Regions from separate parts of the Homo sapiens genome. Here all the other regions are linked to region 1. Evidence: promoter capture Hi-C in 16 types of primary human blood cells and fetal thymus (Javierre and others, 2016). All regions are on one chromosome and are shown on one strand. Each heading gives the region's core, a stretch centred on a gene start or on the middle of the fragment in contact. The rest is flanking DNA. Distances are from core to core; before and after follow the strand shown. Region 1 holds the start of RXYLT1 (ribitol xylosyltransferase 1). Region 2 overlaps AVPR1A (arginine vasopressin receptor 1A). Region 3 has its middle 69 kb from the start of AVPR1A. Region 4 has its middle 29 kb from the start of AVPR1A. Region 5 has its middle 52 kb from the start of AVPR1A. Region 6 has its middle 3.6 kb from the start of GNS. Region 7 overlaps C12orf56 (chromosome 12 open reading frame 56).

What was found. The method cuts DNA at HindIII sites, captures the fragments that hold promoters and counts their contacts. A CHiCAGO score of 5 or more calls a contact.
Region 2: a fragment that was not itself captured here is called in contact with the fragment with the promoter of RXYLT1 in region 1 in 2 of 17 cell types (megakaryocytes and fetal thymus); the score reaches 7.4 in megakaryocytes.
Region 3: a fragment that was not itself captured here is called in contact with the fragment with the promoter of RXYLT1 in region 1 in 1 of 17 cell types (M0 macrophages); the score reaches 5.7 in M0 macrophages.
Region 4: a contact is called between a fragment that was not itself captured here and the fragment with the promoter of RXYLT1 in region 1, in 1 of 17 cell types (megakaryocytes). The highest score is 6.1, in megakaryocytes.
Region 5: a fragment that was not itself captured here is called in contact with the fragment with the promoter of RXYLT1 in region 1 in 6 of 17 cell types (megakaryocytes, M2 macrophages, M0 macrophages and 3 more); the score reaches 10.1 in megakaryocytes.
Region 6: a contact is called between a fragment that was not itself captured here and the fragment with the promoter of RXYLT1 in region 1, in 1 of 17 cell types (non-activated CD4 T cells). The highest score is 5.8, in non-activated CD4 T cells.
Region 7: a contact is called between a fragment that was not itself captured here and the fragment with the promoter of RXYLT1 in region 1, in 1 of 17 cell types (M1 macrophages). The highest score is 6.1, in M1 macrophages.

The regions. Positions count from the first base shown.
Region 1 is chr12:63,778,535-63,781,234 of GRCh38, forward strand. It overlaps RXYLT1 (ribitol xylosyltransferase 1), which reads left to right and starts at 1,375. Exons shown (of 6, transcript NM_014254.3): 1 at 1,375-1,595; 2 at 2,485-2,640. The coding sequence starts at 1,427. RefSeq lists silencers at 1,194-1,423, 1,440-1,715, 1,444-1,743. The HindIII fragment of the contact is 1,854 bases long and covers 329-2,182 here.
Region 2 is chr12:63,144,961-63,147,660 of GRCh38, forward strand. AVPR1A (arginine vasopressin receptor 1A) reads right to left here. Exons shown (of 2, transcript NM_000706.5): 2 at 1-2,685. The coding sequence ends at 2,399. Among named protein-coding and RNA genes, the nearest start is that of AVPR1A, 4.9 kb to the right of the region's middle. The HindIII fragment of the contact is 2,488 bases long and covers 81-2,568 here.
Region 3 is chr12:63,080,836-63,083,535 of GRCh38, forward strand. No RefSeq gene overlaps it. Among named protein-coding and RNA genes, the nearest start is that of AVPR1A, 69 kb to the right of the region's middle. The HindIII fragment of the contact is 3,980 bases long and covers 1-2,700 here.
Region 4 is chr12:63,120,753-63,123,452 of GRCh38, forward strand. No RefSeq gene overlaps it. Among named protein-coding and RNA genes, the nearest start is that of AVPR1A, 29 kb to the right of the region's middle. The HindIII fragment of the contact is 616 bases long and covers 944-1,559 here.
Region 5 is chr12:63,098,038-63,100,737 of GRCh38, forward strand. No RefSeq gene overlaps it. Among named protein-coding and RNA genes, the nearest start is that of AVPR1A, 52 kb to the right of the region's middle. The HindIII fragment of the contact is 3,259 bases long and covers 1-2,700 here.
Region 6 is chr12:64,761,624-64,764,323 of GRCh38, forward strand. It overlaps a transcript of TBC1D30 not described here. Among named protein-coding and RNA genes, the nearest start is that of GNS, 3.6 kb to the left of the region's middle. The HindIII fragment of the contact is 4,032 bases long and covers 1-2,700 here.
Region 7 is chr12:64,298,214-64,300,942 of GRCh38, forward strand. All of the region lies in intron 6 of C12orf56 (chromosome 12 open reading frame 56), which reads right to left. Among named protein-coding and RNA genes, the nearest start is that of KICS2, 77 kb to the left of the region's middle. The HindIII fragment of the contact is 156 bases long and covers 1,282-1,437 here.

The DNA of each region.
Region 1 (2,700 bases), core at 125-2,624:
ACTCCTTCATTTTCATGGCCCTCTCCCCTATTCAAGATGACATCAACTGCATATTAGTTTTACCTTGTATGCATTTCTCAATAGTAAAACCATTAGTCAGTAGCATCTGAATGTACATTGATACAGTGGGTGTTTTGTGGTAATTATAAGGTAATTACTTCCTATCCTTAAATAATTGTCATTTCCACAAACAAACAAAATAGGATAAACAACAATACAGCATACATAAAACAACTGCCATCTCCCTAAGACACCAGAATAGCCTGTTAATCAAGGAAAGCTAAATTTATTAAATCTACTACAGTAAGGGAGGCCACACTTTGACAGAAGCTTGGCAGTCTCAGAAGGAGAAGGTTGGGGGTGATATTTATAGGATTTGGGGAGTCTGAGCAAAAATGGTTTAAAACAGGTCTTTTGAGGCAGGGAACTGTTTGGGGGATTGGGTAAAGTGTTTGACCTAATAGTTTAGGGTCGGTGCTAGAGTGACCAATTTTACTGATTTCCTAGGACTTTCTCAATTTTAGCACTAAAAATCCTCCAACTGGAGAATCCTTACAGTCCTGGGCAAACTGGGACCATTGGTCACCCTAATTAGCAGACATACCGTCGCAAGACTGCTGGGTAATTTGAACAGTAGTACCAGAGCAACTGACAAAACATTGTAGCCCATCTTCCCAAGGCTGGATACAAAGTTTTCTGAAGCATTCACATTTACAGCCTCTATTTGACAAAATACTGCATGCCTATGTGCGTTCAACTCACATAATAATGAAACTTAACTTTAAAAATGTTTTTATTGCAGTAAGGTATATAAAACATGAATTCGACAGTTTAACTATTTCTATGCATACAAGTGAGTGGTATTAATTACATTCACAATGTTAAGCGACCATCATCACTTAATTTTTTTAAAGGACGTTTATATTCACTCATCTATCAACGTAGTAGGCACTGTCCTAGGCGCTAGGGATTCCATGCAGAGCAAAAAACGTCACAGTCCATGCCTTCACATGGCCTTCATGGACCACCGCGGGTGTTCTTTTTCCCCCGAGTCTTTATGTACTTGGGAAAAGTGGCCAGGGTTGAAAGGTGCAATGAGTACACGGCAGAGGTCAGAGAGGTTCCCACTCAGCCCGGCGTCTGGAAGCAGCGTGGGGTAGGGGCCGCTCCAGTACCCCCTCCTCCAGTGTCGAAGGTGGGCAGGCCCTCGGCCGGGTGGATGAGCCGCGACTGGAGGGGGCGGGGCCTGGGCGGGAGGCGGGCGGTGGGCGTGTCCGGGGCGGGGCTGTACCGGGCGCTGGGCGGAGGAGCCTTGGCTGGGGACTGCCTGGAAACGGGCTGGGCCTGCCTCGGACGCCGCCGGTGTCGCGGATTCTCTTTCCGCCCGCTCCATGGCGGTGGATGCCTGACTGGAAGCCCGAGTGGGATGCGGCTGACGCGGAAGCGGCTCTGCTCGTTTCTTATCGCCCTGTACTGCCTATTCTCCCTCTACGCTGCCTACCACGTCTTCTTCGGGCGCCGCCGCCAGGCGCCGGCCGGGTCCCCGCGGGGCCTCAGGAAGGGGGCGGCCCCCGCGCGGGAGAGACGCGGCCGAGGTAGGACTGGGTCGGCGGCTTCCTTCCGGCTCTGCGCTCCTGGCTGGGGCTGCTGGGCGGCTGGGGCCGGGTCCCCGCACCCGGCTCTCAAGTCCGGGATTACCCGCAGGGCCTGAGAAGCGCTTTGCCCCCTACAGCCTCTCGAGCCAGCCCTTGGCTCGGAATTGGAGAATGGTCCTCATTCTTACCCAGATCTCACACGCCGTCCCCGCTCCCGATCCCAGGGGGTGACAGGCGCGCACGCCTTTCAAACACGTGTTAAAATCCAAGACGTCGTCTCAAATGCCAGAGATTTGCGGGAATGCTCCTGGAAGGCCTCAAAATCGCCGCAAGGTTTAAGACATCCGTTTCCATGTTGAAACAAAGCCCTCTCTAATCCTGCAGTGACCATAAGGCAGACTTTACCTCCAAATTCTGGTCCCCTGTCCTGTGTTTTAACTTGTGTTAAGATCAGACTCGGCTTTCTCTTTCCCTTTATTCAGAATTTTGCACGATAGTATCTAAGACTGGTGAACACTACACTCTGAAGTCAGTTTTTTGTGCATAGGTTACCTGTATACAATGGATAAAAATAATTGCAAAAGTTAAGCTTGTAACTTGATACATATTATCCTGTTATTTTTAAAGGTTTTGTGTTGGGGAAGAGAATTTTCCTGTCTCAAGGTAGCATTTTATTTCTAAGACTTTTCAGAGTAAAAAAAGTTCAGTAAAAAAATTGCTGATTTTCTTTTTTGTTTTCATTGTGTATTACCAGTTTAAATTCAGTTGCTGTACCTCTCAGAAATTAAAGTTAGGATGAAATTAGAACTAACACTTAATTTAAATGATTTGAATTTACCTACAACTGCAATAATACCTTACTGGTAAACACTTACTCTTTTTAAAACAGAACAGTCCACTTTGGAAAGTGAAGAATGGAATCCTTGGGAAGGAGATGAAAAAAATGAGCAACAACACAGATTTAAAACTAGCCTTCAAATATTAGATAAATCCACGAAAGGAAAAACAGATCTCAGTGTACAAATCTGGGGCAAAGCTGCCATTGGTAAGTTAATACGTAGAAGGAAGACATGTAAAAAGCATTATAAAATGTATTTTATTGATA
Region 2 (2,700 bases), core at 75-2,574, 630 kb before region 1:
GCAAGATCTATAGGTTCTGAGGTTCTTACTTTGGAAATGGATTTAGAAAAAAATGGGTTCATCTTAGTTCCAAACCAAAAAGCTTTAGTTTTTGAACTATCAAAGAGTTGTTAAAAGGACTGACAGTCTTCGAGTGCTGGGTTACTGAGATGCTACTCTAACTCAAATAATGAATTAATTAATTTAGTTATGGCTTATATTGGACAGTACCCTTTAAGAGACATATTTGTTATTTTTAGAAAGAAGAATTTGAAAACCTAGGGAGTCCCTAGGTTTATAATCTCTATAAAGCATTTGGAAACATGTTTTTAGGCCTATCAATACAAGGAGCCTAAGGGCTGAGAATTTCAAAAGGCAGAAGAATGAAGAGGAGTGAAGTTATCGCTTCCGGGTTCTCACAGTGCTATCCAGTTCTCATTTTCTTATCTACAAAGGTAAAAAAAGAAACTCAATAATACTATTAAAACCATGCTGGCCAACATGGTGAAACCCCATCTCTACTAAAAATATAAAAATTAGCTGGGTGTGGTGGCACATGCATATAGTCCCAGCTACTCGGGAGGCTGAGGCAGGAGAATCGCTTGAACCCAGGAAGCGGAGGTTGCAGTGAGCCGAGATCACGCCACTGCACTCCAGCCTGGCAAAAGAGCAAGACTCTGTTTCAAAAAAAAAAAAAGCAACTATTACTTCCTCTTAAGGATGCAAAATATTTATGATGTATCCTCAAATCATTGCATGATCTCTAAGAAGAAGAAGCAGCCAGACAAAATAGCTAGGAAAAAAATCACTGAGTTCCATTAATGAAAAATGTAATAACAGCAAAGTAGTGTAATTGGTCTCCGTTTAAAAATGGAAAAAATTGATGCTTGTGGGTGGCTTTGATCTACCTGCATTCAAAGAAAAGCAAGTTCTGTCTTTAAATTGGAAAACTTTAGTCAGGCAGGAGAAGTCAAGCTGAGCAGTCACTGGAAATGTTGTCCAATGAATCAGCGATCTATATTTAAATTTTAGGATTTTATATCCCAGCCATGAAATGAACCAATTCTAGTTAATGAAAAATAAACTGGAAAACATCTGTGCAATTTTGGAGATCCCAAGGCTATAATAAAAGCAACTGCTAGCATGTGTATAGTACTTTACTATTTCTGAAGCTCTTTTAACATATTTGATTTCATTTAGTCCTTACAACAACCCTGTGAGGTAAGTGTTATCAACCCCACGGTAAGTCAAGGAAACAGAGGCTTTATATGTGTTTAAGAAACTTGCCTAAAGTTGTGGATTTAATAATGAAGGAAGCCAGTCTGGGCACAGAGCAGTTCTCTTTCCATCTGTCACCCATGTCCCAACCCTGTCTCATCTCTGCTTTGCAATTGTTAGATGAGTGAGAGATTGGAAAGACAAAGCTATTTTTAATTAAACATGTTGGGACACTTTATATCCTGAGTCACTCTTTAGGATACTCATATTATGAATCTGAATTCCCCAAACATGAAGATAATGATCTTGTTAATGTCCAGCATAGCACAGGATACCCTTGTAACACTGATCAAAATACGTTTACAATGTCCAAGAGAAAGTCCAGAGTACCTTAAGCAATCCTTTTCTACTCTTTTAATAAAATTTGGCTTTCCTTATACAAATCTGACTTTAAAACAACCTCGCAGTGGGGGAAAAAAGATATTTTTGGCCAGTCAACATTTCCTCTCACCTTCAGCATCTCAGTTTTCATGCTTTTCTTGACCAATAATATGTGAGGAACCAAAAGGAGGCCACTGCCAGTTGTAAAGTTACCATTTTGAAATGCAAGGTGATTGATAGCTTCTAATAGAACTCTAAACTGGCCACAATGAGCAGGAGCTCATTACACCCCAGGCACTTGTACTCCTAGGAGGTACCATCCCATCTCCTGGACACTGTTTAAGGCTGCATTTTCTGATGCACAAATTAATTTTAATGGATGAAAACATAATTTCTCTGAAGTTTTCTCTGAATATTAAGACTGATGATGAGCTCTCTTTGTTCAGAAATAGTGCCGCATTTTATGTGACTTTTAAACCAATCAAGTCTTACTTATGTTAGAAATGAAAATAAAAGAAACTAACAACAAAATATAAAGCTAGGGTGGTTATGATTTTTCCTTTAAAAATATAACTTCTGTTGTATTTCTGGGAATCAGACCTGCATATTTTAGTACAGCATGTTTCCATTAATATTCCATACAAAATAATGTCTAGTTTTTGGTAGCAATATGAAAATGCAACTAGAAACACAGTCTCATACACAATGAATTGATTTATGGTTATATTAATAAAGTGTATTTGTTCTTGTGATTTCTAGCTCAATTCAGCTAATGAGCCAAAAAGTCAATCACAAGAATCAAGTTGCATGAATGCAAGGCTCAAGTTGAAACAGGAATGAATTTGATGGACTTGGAAGATTTAGGCGAGTCCTTCCACATACCCGTACTGTTTGTTGGGCTTCGATTGTTAGAATAAAAAGTCTGTCTTCTGCTCATACTGTCAGTATCTTCTTTGTTGAATTTTTCCTTCATGTTTTGGCAGCATGGGAAGCTTTGAACACAGTCTTGAAGGAGATGGCCACTAAAAAACATGTATATCCAGGGATTACAGCAGCTATTCAAGGAACCCAGTAATGCAGTGATGGTGATGGTAGGGTTTTCCGATTCTGCATGAAAAATAT
Region 3 (2,700 bases), core at 62-2,561, 700 kb before region 1:
CTAAACAACTCTGGAGACAACATTCATATTAACTAGTATGAAAGAGGCACATCTTGTAGTTGGGTGCTGCACAGCTCCCCCACAATTGCATGTTGTGGCCCTGGGTCTATCACGGACATGTTTTGGTTATTCCAAGAATTACAAGGTTAGTCTTTCTTGCAAATTGAGGTAACTATCCCAGCACACTGAGGGTGCTCATTGGCCACATAATTTTGGATTGGTCTTAGGTATGATTCTGTCCTCGTCACTGACCTATATGAGCCATTTATTTTTTATTCTGTGACTTTCAAATGGTGTGATCTTCCAATACACATGTCCCGGATTCACATTGAGCATTATCTAATTTTTCTGTCTGATTTGAGTCTGCAAGTCTCAACCCAGGTGACTTCACCACTTGATTGAATTAAACGAATCTCTTTATTGTCTGCATCATCTCAGCTCTTCCTTCCTGGCCAGGCCGCAAGCCTTAAGGCTATCTAAATGTCCTTAGTTTGAATCCTGAATATCTGTCTGTCTTTGTGAATGTAGCACAATAGTGGTCATGGATGAAGGTACAGTGACATAAAAAGAGGTTGAACAGGGTCCTGGCACTGAGAAAGGTGGGTTAGGTTTTGAAAGGCTTGAAACAGGAGGCCAACTTGATCTAGTGTGAGTTCTAAAAAGATCTTCCTGGCTGAGGTACAAAGAATGAATTGGAGTGGGGCAGGTGGGAATGCAGGGAGATGAGTAAAAAGCCTATTGCCAGGTCCAGATAGAGAAAGAGTGGCTTGGATTAGTGACAATGGAAACAGAGAAAAGTGGATGGATTTGAGAAAGATTTTGGAAATAAAATTCATGGAACTTGGTGGTGACTGGATCTAGGGAGTAAGGAAGGGGAGATGTAAGGAAAGATGGCTGAATAGCTGGTGGATTGTGGTGATGATGGCTGTGCACATTGGTAGTAGCAATGATGAGGCAGCGGAGGGAGAGAATAGGAGCAAGGAAGGACCACGAATTCAATTTGAGGTGCCTGTAAGAAAGAATCCAAGTGATGAGACTGAATAAGCATTAGATGTTTGGTTGGAGAAATGCTAATTGTAATTAGAGCAAACATAGGGTACTTAATTTTTTTAATGCAGTCCTCAATAAGTGAGGGTGGAGTGGAAGAAAACAAGGTAAAATAAAGGCAAAAAATCATTTGTTCATCTCTCTATGCCTAGGTTCATTCAAATAGATTCATTCAATTATCCAGAATCTTGCCTATGCAGATATTATTGTAGATTCTGAGTAAAGTGGTGAACTAGAGAAAGTTCCTACCCTCAAATTTCCTATTCTCAGTGGAAGTAAATTCACAATGTTGAGATTAAATAGTTAATGCCATCTTTAGGAAAAAATATACAGATCACATTTGGTTTTATTTTATTTTACTTTACTGTTTTAGACATGTCACATTTATTTTGCTTTTCCTGTTATTTTGTAGGACTTTGTCTAAGTGCTCTATTGGCTAATAGTTCATAAGTTCATAATTTTGCTAGTTTCTATAAGACGTTTATAGTTGTGTACCTAGAAATGTTGATTGGTATGTTATTTCTCTTATATATTCTTGTTTGTTTTTGAGATGGAGTTTTGCTCTGTTGCCCAGGCTGGAGTGCAGTGGTGCGATCTCAGCTCACTACAACCTCCGCCTCCCAGGTTCAAGAGATTACCCTGCCTCAGCCTCCGGAGTAGCTGGGATTACAGGCACCCACCATCATGCCCAGCTAATTTTTGTATTTTTGTAGAGACAAGGTTTTATCATGTTGGCCAGGCTGTTCTTGAACTCCTGACCTCAGGTGATCCGCCCGCCTCGGCCTCCCAAAGTGCTGGGACTACAGGTGTGAGCCACCACGCCTGGCCTATATTCTTTCTTGAACTTTAATAGCAGCAAAAATCCTCCTAGATGTTATATACTAGATGAAGAAATATGCCACCAGGATAGGCTTTGTGTGTGTAAAATAAATTTAGTACCCAAAATATGCCACTGAAATTTTTCATATAGCAGTCTCATAAATGTAATTTTAAAATAGTCAATAAAACTTTAAGATGGGAGTACTAGATTTTAGTATATAAAACTAAATTCTATAAAAAAGTATGCCTCCCTGATACATCTACTTAGCTTGAAATCACGACATATCATGTTTAAAACAAAAATAATCTTGACAGTAGAAAGAGGATGTTCTTCTTGTTCCAAATTACATTCATATACATTTTGGTAAACAAGTTGTAACTGAATACATCTAAGTTTTAAAATTCTCTTGTTTAGAAATGTGCACACTTGCACATAGGAAGAGGAAGTTGAATTGCTTTACACCGAACAAGATAAACACATTTATGACCCAGCCTGAAAGTCTTTGTGAGACAGGTGGACTTTGAGACTTTTAGTGTGATAATGATACATTGTTGACTACTGTTGATAATATTAACTATTGACTATTAAGTTGTTAATAGTAACTGGACAGGGAGGGATTCATCCTGCCCAGGCAAATCCAAATGCTAAATAAACATTTACTGAGCACTCGGGTGTGTCAGGCATTAGGACAAGAACTTGGTCTACAAGAAAATGCAAAAGTTCATAATTCAGACAGAATTTCTTTCCTCAGTATCTGTCCACTAAACGTATAGGAATGAACCCTATCATATGATTTATAGTGCACATGGCTGGAAGCACTCGCTAATATCCAC
Region 4 (2,700 bases), core at 2-2,501, 660 kb before region 1:
AAGATTAAAGAAGCTCTCAGATGTAAAACAAACAATTAAGAGTAGTAAATATCACTAGGCACAGTGGCTCATGCCTGTAATCCCAACACTTTGGGAGGTCGAGGTGGGCAGATCAGGAATTGTGGAGTTCAAGACCAACCTGGCCAGCATGGTGAAGCCCAATCTCTACTAAAAATACAAAAATTAGCCGGGTGTGGTGGTGCGCACCTGTAGTCCCCGCTACTTGGGAGGCTGAGGCAGGAGAGTTGCTTGAACCTGGGAGGCGGAGGTTGCAGTGAGCCAAGATCACGTCACTGCGCTCCAGCCTGGGTGACAAGGCAAGACTCCATCTCAAAAAAAAAAAAAAAAAGGTAGTAAATATCATGAGACATTCTGGTATAATCTTCTACTCTCCCTTCTTTTTCTTCCCAATATCTAGTCTTTGACAAAGTCCGGTAATTTTTTTTGTAAATATCTCAGATATCTTCCTCTATATTCGTATTCTATTAGCTTATTATATTATACTTGGATTACTGCAAATATCTCTGGGCTGGTATCTGTCTCTTCCCTTATACAAATCATTTTTCCCCCTTAATATTGAAAGGTAATTCTGAGATTCTAGAACACTAATTTCCATATGCCATTTCCTTGCTTTAGATATTTGACCTAATTTTTTCAGACCTGTTTAATCACCAGTTTAGCTTTCAGGACCCTCTCTAGAGGTGGTCATGTGTTATTGTGGAAAGTACAGATTTTGGATTCAAACAAATGCAGATTCAAACCTTGGGTATACCATCTATAAGATGTTGAAAAGTAACCTGACCTTGCAGTCTCAGTTTCCTCAACTATAAAATAGTGTCTACTTGTGTGGTAAAGGGTTAATCCAGCAGGTCTGCACAGTCTAAATCCTGCACATTCCAAAGAAAGGTTTAGTCCTTACTCTACTCCTGGGAGATAACCTCTAAGCTTCTAGAATATACTGCCTGTTAAGAATGTTTTTGTTTATCTAAGCCCTTGGGCTACACCAAATAGTTTAAGCTAAGAAAGTGGGAAATGTGTGATTAAATCTGAGAGTTGTCTTGGTGACTTCAAAACTACTTCTAGAATTTTTATAAGAATTAAATGAGATAGTTTATAAAAAGCATTTGGACAGTGCGTAGGGTGTTTCTCTCCTTTACAGGCTTTGTAAGCACTCCCCCATCTATCCAGGCTTATACTGCACCTGTCTGTTTTCCTGCTTTTATCTTCTGTGTCATTGAGGCTGCATTTCACACTCAATACTAATGAGTTCTTGCCTATGCTGTCCTGATTGCCTGGACCACCCTGCTTTTTTCTTCTGTCGAAACAAAGCCTGTGTGTTGAAGTCCTCTCTTTTCTATGGATCCTCCACTGATTATTGCAGTCTTTGCTAATTTCTTTCTTTCCCTATTTTTAATTGTACTTTTAGCTGGTAATAGGAGCTGGGTGATACATTATGCATCTATATATAGGGTCTTAACTTGGAGGGAATGGAGTATGTTTTATTTTTCTTGGCCTCCCCATTGGTAGATGCTCAGTAGTTGACTTACAGATTTACTCTAAGCTTCTGACTTTGACCTCAAACACCATCTGGAGTATGTAACTTAGGTTGATGATAGTTGCCCTTGTTCTCAATTACCTAGGTACTTTCAACGTCCTAGTCCTTTTGCTGCTGTGTGCTCTTTGACCCTTCTGCTATGGGCCACGCAGGTGTTGACAGCAACAAAGATCACCTTCTCTCCTCTTCTTCACTCATTGGGTCTAGAAGGCCCTGAGGTTGCACATGCCTCACCTGTGCGGGAGTGTGCATATTGTGTGAGTCCAGCTGGGCCACTGTGACCAAGTTCATGTTGCCAATTTATTGAAACATCTCACTCCTTAGGGCACAACCACAAAATGCCTTTTGTTCCCCAATAACTGCTTTCTAACTGGGCCATGTTGAACCCACTTTCCAGTGGGGAGCAGTTCCTTTAATTACAAGTTGGCCAGATTTTGTAAGTTGCAGTGATGTTTAAAAAAGTAATTTTAACCCTATGCAGTTTAAAATTTCAATCTCAACTTAACTCAGAGCTCTCCTTCCTTTCCACTAATAAAGACCAAACCTGCCACTGGCTTTAATTGGTGGTGAGGGGGTTGTCTCATTACAAACTTATCCCTCCTCCCTTTTTGAGGGCTAGCTCTTCCAGTTCTTGGGTCAGGGAGAAGAGCAAAAAGAGGAAATATCTCTTACTCCTCTGGACAGGGTTGCAGTCTTCTCCCCGAATGGCAGACAGTTTTCCTGGTTACTACTGATTTGCTATTGATCACATTTCTGAAACGCCTGTCCAAATGTTGACTCTATCATGGCAGGCATCTCGGAGTACTGTGAAGGGTCCCAAAAGGCTTCCGCCTGTGAAGTTCCCTGACATGAGAAAGGGCTGGCTTCATTGGTATGGGAACTGTGGGAACCTAGGGACACAGGGCCTCAAGTTCAGAATTCTTCCCATCCCTCTTGAAGTTTAATGGTCTGCAGTTGCCATCCTAAAATTCTTAATTTTACCTTTAAGTTCATGTTTTGTAAGTGAAGTCCAGCAGGACAACAGAGCATGGGTGGGTAGCTTGGAGCCTCAGCTCATGTGTGGCCCTGTATTTGTAACTTCCCTGCCTCCCTGGGCAAAGTCACCTTGTTCCCCATTCCCTGTTTCCTGGGGCTCTGCCTTGCCT
Region 5 (2,700 bases), core at 193-2,692, 680 kb before region 1:
AGAGAATGACCTAATACAGCACTCTAAAGCAAAAATAATCATTTTTTGTTAGCAGCCTTTAATTGGCTTATGTAATTGGTCAGTATATTCAGTCACCTGGGAGTACATTTTTTTTCAGTTAAATTATGTTAAAAAGCTCATCAGAAAGTTTCATTGTTTAAAATTTGACATTTCAAGCATTTATGAAGTTTTAATGGTTGTGGTGGGAAATTGTTAACTGGTACTTTTGGAAATTTCAGGCTAAAGGAATATCTTGAGCTTTCATTGTGTAATTGTGAGTGGGACCAGTACCAGAACCGTTTTCTGAGGAAAGCTGGACCCAGACCAGGGGACTCCCTCAGCCTATTTCTGTGCAAAGGTAAGGTAGATCTCCATAAAGAACATGAGCCCTGGCTTGGCATCTTGATTTTTGCAAGATAACATGCTTGTGCTATCTTCTCCTCAGCTGCTCAATGAATCTTTTTTTTTTTTTTTAGAAGAGGGTCTCACTGTGTTGCCCAGGCTGGAGCGCAGCCACGATTCACAAGGATGAGCATAGCACACTGCAGCCTCGAACTCCTGGGTTCAAGTGATCCTCCCACTTCAGCCTCCCAAGCAGCTGGTACTACAGGCATGCACCACCATGCCTCGCTTTGCTAAATCTTATTGAATTATTTTTGCCAGGAAGCATAAATCCAAATTCCTGGTGACCAACTCTCAAAGGAGTGCCTTGAGGACAGGAGCCACTGATTTCTCCTTGTGTTTCAAATTCTATCCCAGAAACAAGCCAAATCATGAGGACCAGCATAGTATGGGTCTTCATGACGCACACTTTCTGAATTGATCTCAGATGCTCTGGCTCTTGCATCTTGTTGGGCTAACTAAATAGCTGGGTGATGATCACTGTTGAATTTATACCCACTGGCAAGTCTCCTCCTTTGTGTCTTGTATAAAGCCTATTTTGCCTGCTGTTTGGTGGGTAACAGTTGCAGTGGCAGAAACCAGGGGAGTTTGCCTTATGTTCTCTGGTCTTGGTGGCCACCTGCTGGTTGGTTATTCCCTCTGATTGGTCATTTGCCATTAAGTGGGTTGGTGACAATGGATATTTGTGGAACAGTTGTCCACCATTTTCTGAATACCTACTCAAAGATCTGTTACTGAACGCCAGGGGTTTGGTCTAGGTCCCATTGTTTGCCCCACAAAAAGAAACAACGTGTGTTGCCAGGGAACAAGGCTTTATTATTTTATGGGTGATGTCAACCAGGGAGATGGGAGCCAAGTCTCAAATCCATCCCTCCCTCTCAACTAAGGTCAGGGGTTTACATAGCTGGGAAGGAAAACAGAAGGGGCAAGGAAGAGGAGTTGGTCAACAGGCAGCAGGTGGTTGAATGAAGGGTCCAGCGTCTTATTGTAACCACGTATAAGAAAATAGGAATTAGGGAGGGGTAAGAAGGGGAATTGATCAACAGGCAACAGATGCATCTCATTGTCTGGGTGCAGTGATCTAGAAAGCCTCAGCTCCCCGATGGCATCTGAGAGGCCTGGCGATCGGTTTCCTGAGAAAAGATGGAAGTGTAAAATTGGGCTGGCTTCGGATCTTTTCTTCTGATTGTTGCCTTGTTTCCTAAATATCTCCTCCCACGGTCCTCCTTGTGGTTCCCTTCCACAGTCCTCATTGCTCAGTACTGCCTCTTTTCTTTTTTCTTTTCTTTTCTTTGAGACACACTCTCGCTGTGTCACCCAGGCTGGAGTGCAGTGGGACGATCTCAGCTCACTGAAACCTCTGCCTCCCAGGTTCAAGTGATTCTCCTGCTTCAGCCTCATGAGCAGCTGGGACTACAGGCACACGCCACCATGCCCGGGTAATTTTTGTATTTTTAATAGAGATGAGGTTTCACCATGTTGGCCAGGCTGGCCTTGAACTCCTGACCTCGAGTGATCTGCCTGCCTCGGCCTCCCAAAGTGCTGGGATTACAGGCATGAGCTACCGCATCCAGCCCAGCATGGCCCATTTCTTCCACAGAACAACATCATTCATGAGGGATAAAAGCATTCTGGTCCCAGGCCCTTCTGCTTTCTCAGGCTTCTCTCTCCTGGCTCTCACCAGTCTCTGTATCCACTCCAACTTCTACTGACTTCTCAGGAGGGAAAGCTGAACACTAGTCTCAGTTTAGGCAAGGAGGAGGCAGTGGTGGAGCTTTAGCTCTATTTGAGGTATCTAAAGCCAAGCATGTTTCCCTATTAGGCTCAACTACCCATTATGTACAAATGGGACTTCAACACACATGTCAAGTACAGTGGAACCAAACCTAGTTTAATCTAGGCTTAATTCCAGTTGGAAGTGAGGATTTCTACTTTCACATGCTTCTTCCTGTCTCAAATCTCAGCTCTAGATCTCCTAAAACCAGTTGTTCAAATGGCTTGGGGCATTTTTTTCAAGATGATTTCCACGGGAAAAATTATACAATTTTGATAAGAGATTTAAAAAGAGAACCTGAATTAATGGAGAGACATATCATGTTTATGGAAAGGAAAAAAAATATAATAAAGACACCAATTGTTCCCAACTTGAATTATAGATTCAATGCAATTGAAATCAAAACCGTAAAACTTTCTATGCTTATTTCACCACTTATATGGAAGGGTAAAGGGTCAAAAGTAGCCAGAATGCTTCTGAAGTAGCAGGTATCAGAACTTACTATGAAGCTGTTGAAGGAAACT
Region 6 (2,700 bases), core at 161-2,660, 980 kb after region 1:
TACAAACGCCATGGGAATGTCAGGAAGGTACCCTCTCTGGTCTAAAAAGGGGAGGCATGAATAATCCATCCCTTGTTTAGCATATCATCAAGAAATAACCATAAAAATGGGCAACGAGTAGCCCTCGGGCTGCTCTGCCTATGGAGTAGCCATTCTTTTATTCCTCTACTTTCTTAATAAACTTTCTTTCACTTTACTCTATGGTCTTGTCCTGAATTCTTCCTTGCTCGAGATCCAAGAACCCTTTCTTGATGTCTGGATCAGGACCCCTTTCCGGTAACACTGCTACACTAGTGCTGAAGAGACATTGTCCCTCGTTCATGGAATTTGCAGTCTAATGGCAGAGAGATGGACAATCTAATCTTGTATCTTGTATATGATTACAAATAGACATGCTATGAAGGAAAAGTAAAGGGTGCAATGAGCATTTAAGGTGGTGGGAGGCTGATTTAGTCTAAGGTGCCCTGAGGAAGTGATCTTTGAGTGAAATCTGAAGTTTGAGTAGGAGATAATTTGTTAATGGAGTATTGGGGTGGTGGAATGTCTCCTAAGCACAGAGTACAGCATATGCAAAGGTTCTGAGCTGGTGCATTGCAATAACTAAAAGAAGCCAGTGTGGTTAGAGCAGAGGGAGAGAGGTGGTGAGGACCCAGATCCTATTTTAAGGACTTGGGTTTTTATAGTAAGGCTAATTGGAAATTACTGAAAGAATGTAAGATAAATATAATCATACATGAACTTTTAGAAGATCCTTTAGACTGTGGCATGAAGAACAGATTGGAAGAGGACAAGCATGGGTGAGGGTAGACCAATTAGGTAGAGAGAAAAGTGGATAACAGGGACAGATTCAAATTTTGTGGGGCCTGAAGTTTATGTGCATTTGGCGAGTGGAGGCTCCTTAAGAAAAAGAATAACAATTTTAGATACAAAAGTAGGTACACAACTGAATATGTATTTAGACTAAAACAAAATATAACGTTATAAATTTTTAAAAGTTGAAAAATATTACAAATAATGCAAAAATTTAACGTAACATATTTTTATTAAGTAACTGCCAGGCATACTTCTTCATACTTTTTTCCCCTTACATTATATGGCTATGTGCTCTTTAATCATCTCTTCATATGATGTTAGTTTATAATATTTTCTAAAGAAAATAGAAAGATAATTTAGTTTTTTCTCTAGTGTGTTTGATCAGTATTTGCCTTTTATTGGTGATAATTCAGAAAAATTATTTTTCACCTCAGTTCATTATTGGTTTTATATATATGTTTAGTATTTTTGTCAAATTTCAGAAAACTCTATCAAATATCCTCTTAACATAGGCATTTCGTGACATTCTGCATTTTATTTTGTATTATTTTATTTTTTGAGATGGAGTCTTGATCTGTCTGCGCTCTTGGCTCACTGCAACCTCCACGTCCCAGGTTCAAGCAATTCTCCTGCCTCAGCCTCCTGAGTAGCTGGGATTACAGGCATGCGTCACTATGCCCGGCTAATTTTTGTATTTTTAGTAGAGATGGGGTTTCGCCATGTTGGCCAGGCTGGTCTCGAACTCCTGACTTCAGGTGATCTACCCGCCTCAGCCTCCCAAAGTGCTGGGATTATAGGCGTGAGTTTTATGTTATCTTCCTCAATGCTAGTGTGAGATCAAATCGAAAGAAATTTGAATATTTTTCAATGAGTTTATATAATTCACAAGTTGTCAATTTAATAGCCTATTTATTACTTTCATTTGCAGTTTATCTCTTCCTCTTTCCAGCTTTATTGAGATATAATTGACAACAAAATTATGTGTATTTAAGGTGTACAACATGATGTTTTCATATACGTATAGAGTGTGAAATGATTATTCTCTTCCTCTTAATGAATTACTGTTTTTCTTATGATTTAAACTTTTTTTGGTTACTCTTTACTTCTTAATGTCAGGATAATTTCTCTTTACTTTCTCATTCATCTTTATCACTTTGGTTTTGTATCCTATTAATTTTTTTTTTTTTTTTTGAGACAGAGTCTTGCTCTGTCACCAGGCTAGAGTGCAGTGGCATGATCTCGGCTCACTACAACCTCCACCTCTCAGGTTCAAGCGATTCTCCTGCCTCAGCCTCCCAAGTAGCTGGGATTACAGGTGTACACCACCACATCCAGCTAATTTTTGTATTTTTAGTAGAGACAGTGTTTCACCATATTGGTCTGGTCTCGAACTCCTGACCTCAGGCTGGTCTTGAACTCCTGACCTCAGGTGATCCACCCACCTTGGCCTCCCAAGGTGCTGGGATTACAGGCGTGAGCCACCATGCCCAGCCTAGCCAAGCTGTTTTTTAAAGAGCATGCAGCCCTTTTTCCTAATCATTATAATAGCTGTGTTAACAGATGACTGATTATAAATGCTGTTTAACCACAGGTTAAAATAACAATCTTGTTTTACTTTGTTGAATAATGTCTCAGATGTTTTCAGTTGGCTAAAAATATTTAAAAATTGCTCATAGGTTTTCCTGTTAGAAAGTAGTGCCCAATAATTGCCAACTCATCAGTGGTTGTCATATCCAGAATAGAATACATAATAGTATTTGGTGTTTGGTTATGTGTTTGACTTACCACTTTTTAAACATTTTTTTCATTATTTCAATTTTTTCCATAAATTGTTTTAGTAAAATAAGTTGTGTTTTCATTTTGACATGTTTTTCCAAGAGCTTAAGC
Region 7 (2,729 bases), core at 110-2,609, 520 kb after region 1:
CACTTTTTGATGGGGTTGTTTTTTGCTTGTAAATTTGTTTACGTCCTTTGTAGATTCTGGATATTAGCCCTTTGTCAGATGGATAGATTGCAAAAATTTTCTCTCGTTCTGTAGGTTGTCTGTTCACTCTGATGATAGTTTCTTTTGCTGTGCAGAAGCTCTTTAGTTTAATTAGATCCCATTTGTCAATTTTGGCTTTTGTTGCCATTGCTTTTGATGTTTTAGATATGAAGTCTTTGCCCATGCCTGTGTCCTGAATGGTATTGCCTAGGTTTTCTTCTAGGACTTTTATGGTTTTAGGTCTTATGTTTAAGTCTTTAATCCACCTTGAGTTAATTTTTGTATAAGGTGTAAGGAAGGGGTCCAGTTTCAGTTTTCTGCATATGGCTAGCCAGTTTTCCCAGCACCATTTATTAAATAGGGAATCCTTTCCCCATTGCTTGTTTGTGTCAGGTTTGTCAAAGATCAGATGGTTGTAGATGTGTGGTGTTATTTCTGAGGGCTCTGTTCTGTTCCATTGGTCTATATGTCTGTTTTGGTACCAGTACCATGCTCTTTTGGTTACTGTAGCCTTGTAGTATAGTTTGAAGTCAGGTAGTGTGATGCCTCCAGCTTTGTTCTTTATGCTTAGGATTGTCTTGGCTATGCGGGCTCTTTTTTGGTTCCATATGAACTTTAAAGCAGTTCTTTCCAATTCTGTGGAGAAAGTCAATAGGTAGCTTGATGGGGATAGCATTGAATCTATAAATTACTTTGGGCAGTTATGGCCATTTTCACGATATTGATTCTTCCTATCCATGAGCATGAAATGTTTTTCCATTTGTTTGTGTCCTCCCTTATTTCCTTGAGCAGTGGTTTGTAGTTCTCCTTGAAGAGGTCCTTCACATTCCTTGTAAGTTGTATTCCTAGGTATTTTATTCTCTTAGTAGCAATTGTGAATGGGAGTTCACTCATGATTTGGCTCTCTGTTTGTCTGTTATTGGTGTATAGGAATGCTTGTGATTTTTGTGCATTGATTTCGTATCCTGAGACTTTGCTGAAGTTGCTTTGATAAGCTTAAGGAGATTTGGGCTGAGACGGTGAGGTTTTCTAAATATACAATCATGTCATCTGTGAACAGAGACAATTTGACTTCCCCTTTTCCTATCTGAATTATTTCCTTCTCCATTCACTTTGGCCTTTCATTTTTGATAACTGAATTAGAAGATTTGTTTTAGCCCAGGTAAGAATATTATATTAAATAATGGCTGCAGTGTTTTCAAGTATAAAACAGATCATGAAAGCTTCATTTTTAGACATTGGATTAGGTTAATATTTCACAAGAGAACAGATTTGCAATTCAGTATGAATAACTTACAGCACCTGGAATATGCATGCATTGTGTTTTGGCCTGAGGGAGAATACAAAGATAAGTAAGACATATACTTGTCCTAAAGAAGCTTTTAGCATATTAAGATAAATAAGAAAAATGTGCCAATCACTATAGTAAAAGGGAGGATATCTGTGCTAATTCTCGATGGTAGAAACTGTATCATAATCATGCTATATTTCTAATACCTATCACCAAGCCTCACACAGATTAGGCATGAAAACTGTCTGTTAATTGTTAAAGAGGAAGTGCTATGAAAGATGTCATAGAACTACATTGTTCAACTCGGTAGCTACTGCCCACAAGTGTCTATTTAAATTAATGTAAATTTAATAAAATTAACGTTTTACTTTTTTAGTCACTAGTCACATTCAAGTGCTTAATAGCCACATGTGGCTAGTGTCTGCTGTATTGAACAATGCAGATTATAAAACTTCAAAGAAAGTTCTATGGCATGGAATTGACAGAGAAGATCAAAAGGAGGAAGGTACTAAAGTTCCCCATTAGGCATGACAGGAAAGGCAGAAAATGGCATTTGAGCTGAGCCTTGATGAATGGGTATGATTTTTAACAAGAGAAATTAGAAGAAGAGTATTCTAGAGAAAGCAAGCAGCAGGGAGAAAGGAGAGCTAAGGAGAACAAGTATCCAAGTTATCCTACATGGCTCGATCTTGTAGAGGACAGAGGTGAGAGAGAAGATGAAGTGGCGGGTCAGGTCTGTGAATCCTAACCTTACTCTCTTTCTCTCCATTCTTTTTTTGTTCCACAGCCTAGGCCACAGGTATCAGGCCTGTTTTTAAACTGAAGATGCTTAAATGACCTCCAGACTAACACTGGTGCTGATCCCATTAGGAATACACATCAACATCCTTCTTAATCTAACCCTTAAGTGGTACTTCAGTTCTCCTACCTAGACATGCACTTTAAATCCAGTCCCTGATTGTGTCCAGTGTATCTGGGTGGACTTCCCCTTTGAGCACTGTCCTAAGTCCTTTCCCAGTCCTCTCCTAACTGCTGGCTTTACTCTTGACAATCTTTATGTCCTCACATTCCATAAAACCCTGTTCCCACACCCTAAACAAGCAGATCTTCCTGGTGCCAAATGTTTGTGCAGACATCCAGTTGTAATTCACCCACATGCTAAAATATCCTGATATTTCATTTTGCTCACTCTTATGTAGAGATCACTCTCACCTTTGGGCACTGTGCCTTTTCCATGAGCATCTACATCTGGATTCATTTTCCCAGTGCCCACCTTATCCAGATGGTAGCCTGATATGTTCTGGTTCTGTGTTCCCACCCAAATCTCATCTTGAATTGTAATCCCCACTGTCGAGGGAGGGTCCTGGTGGGAGGTGAT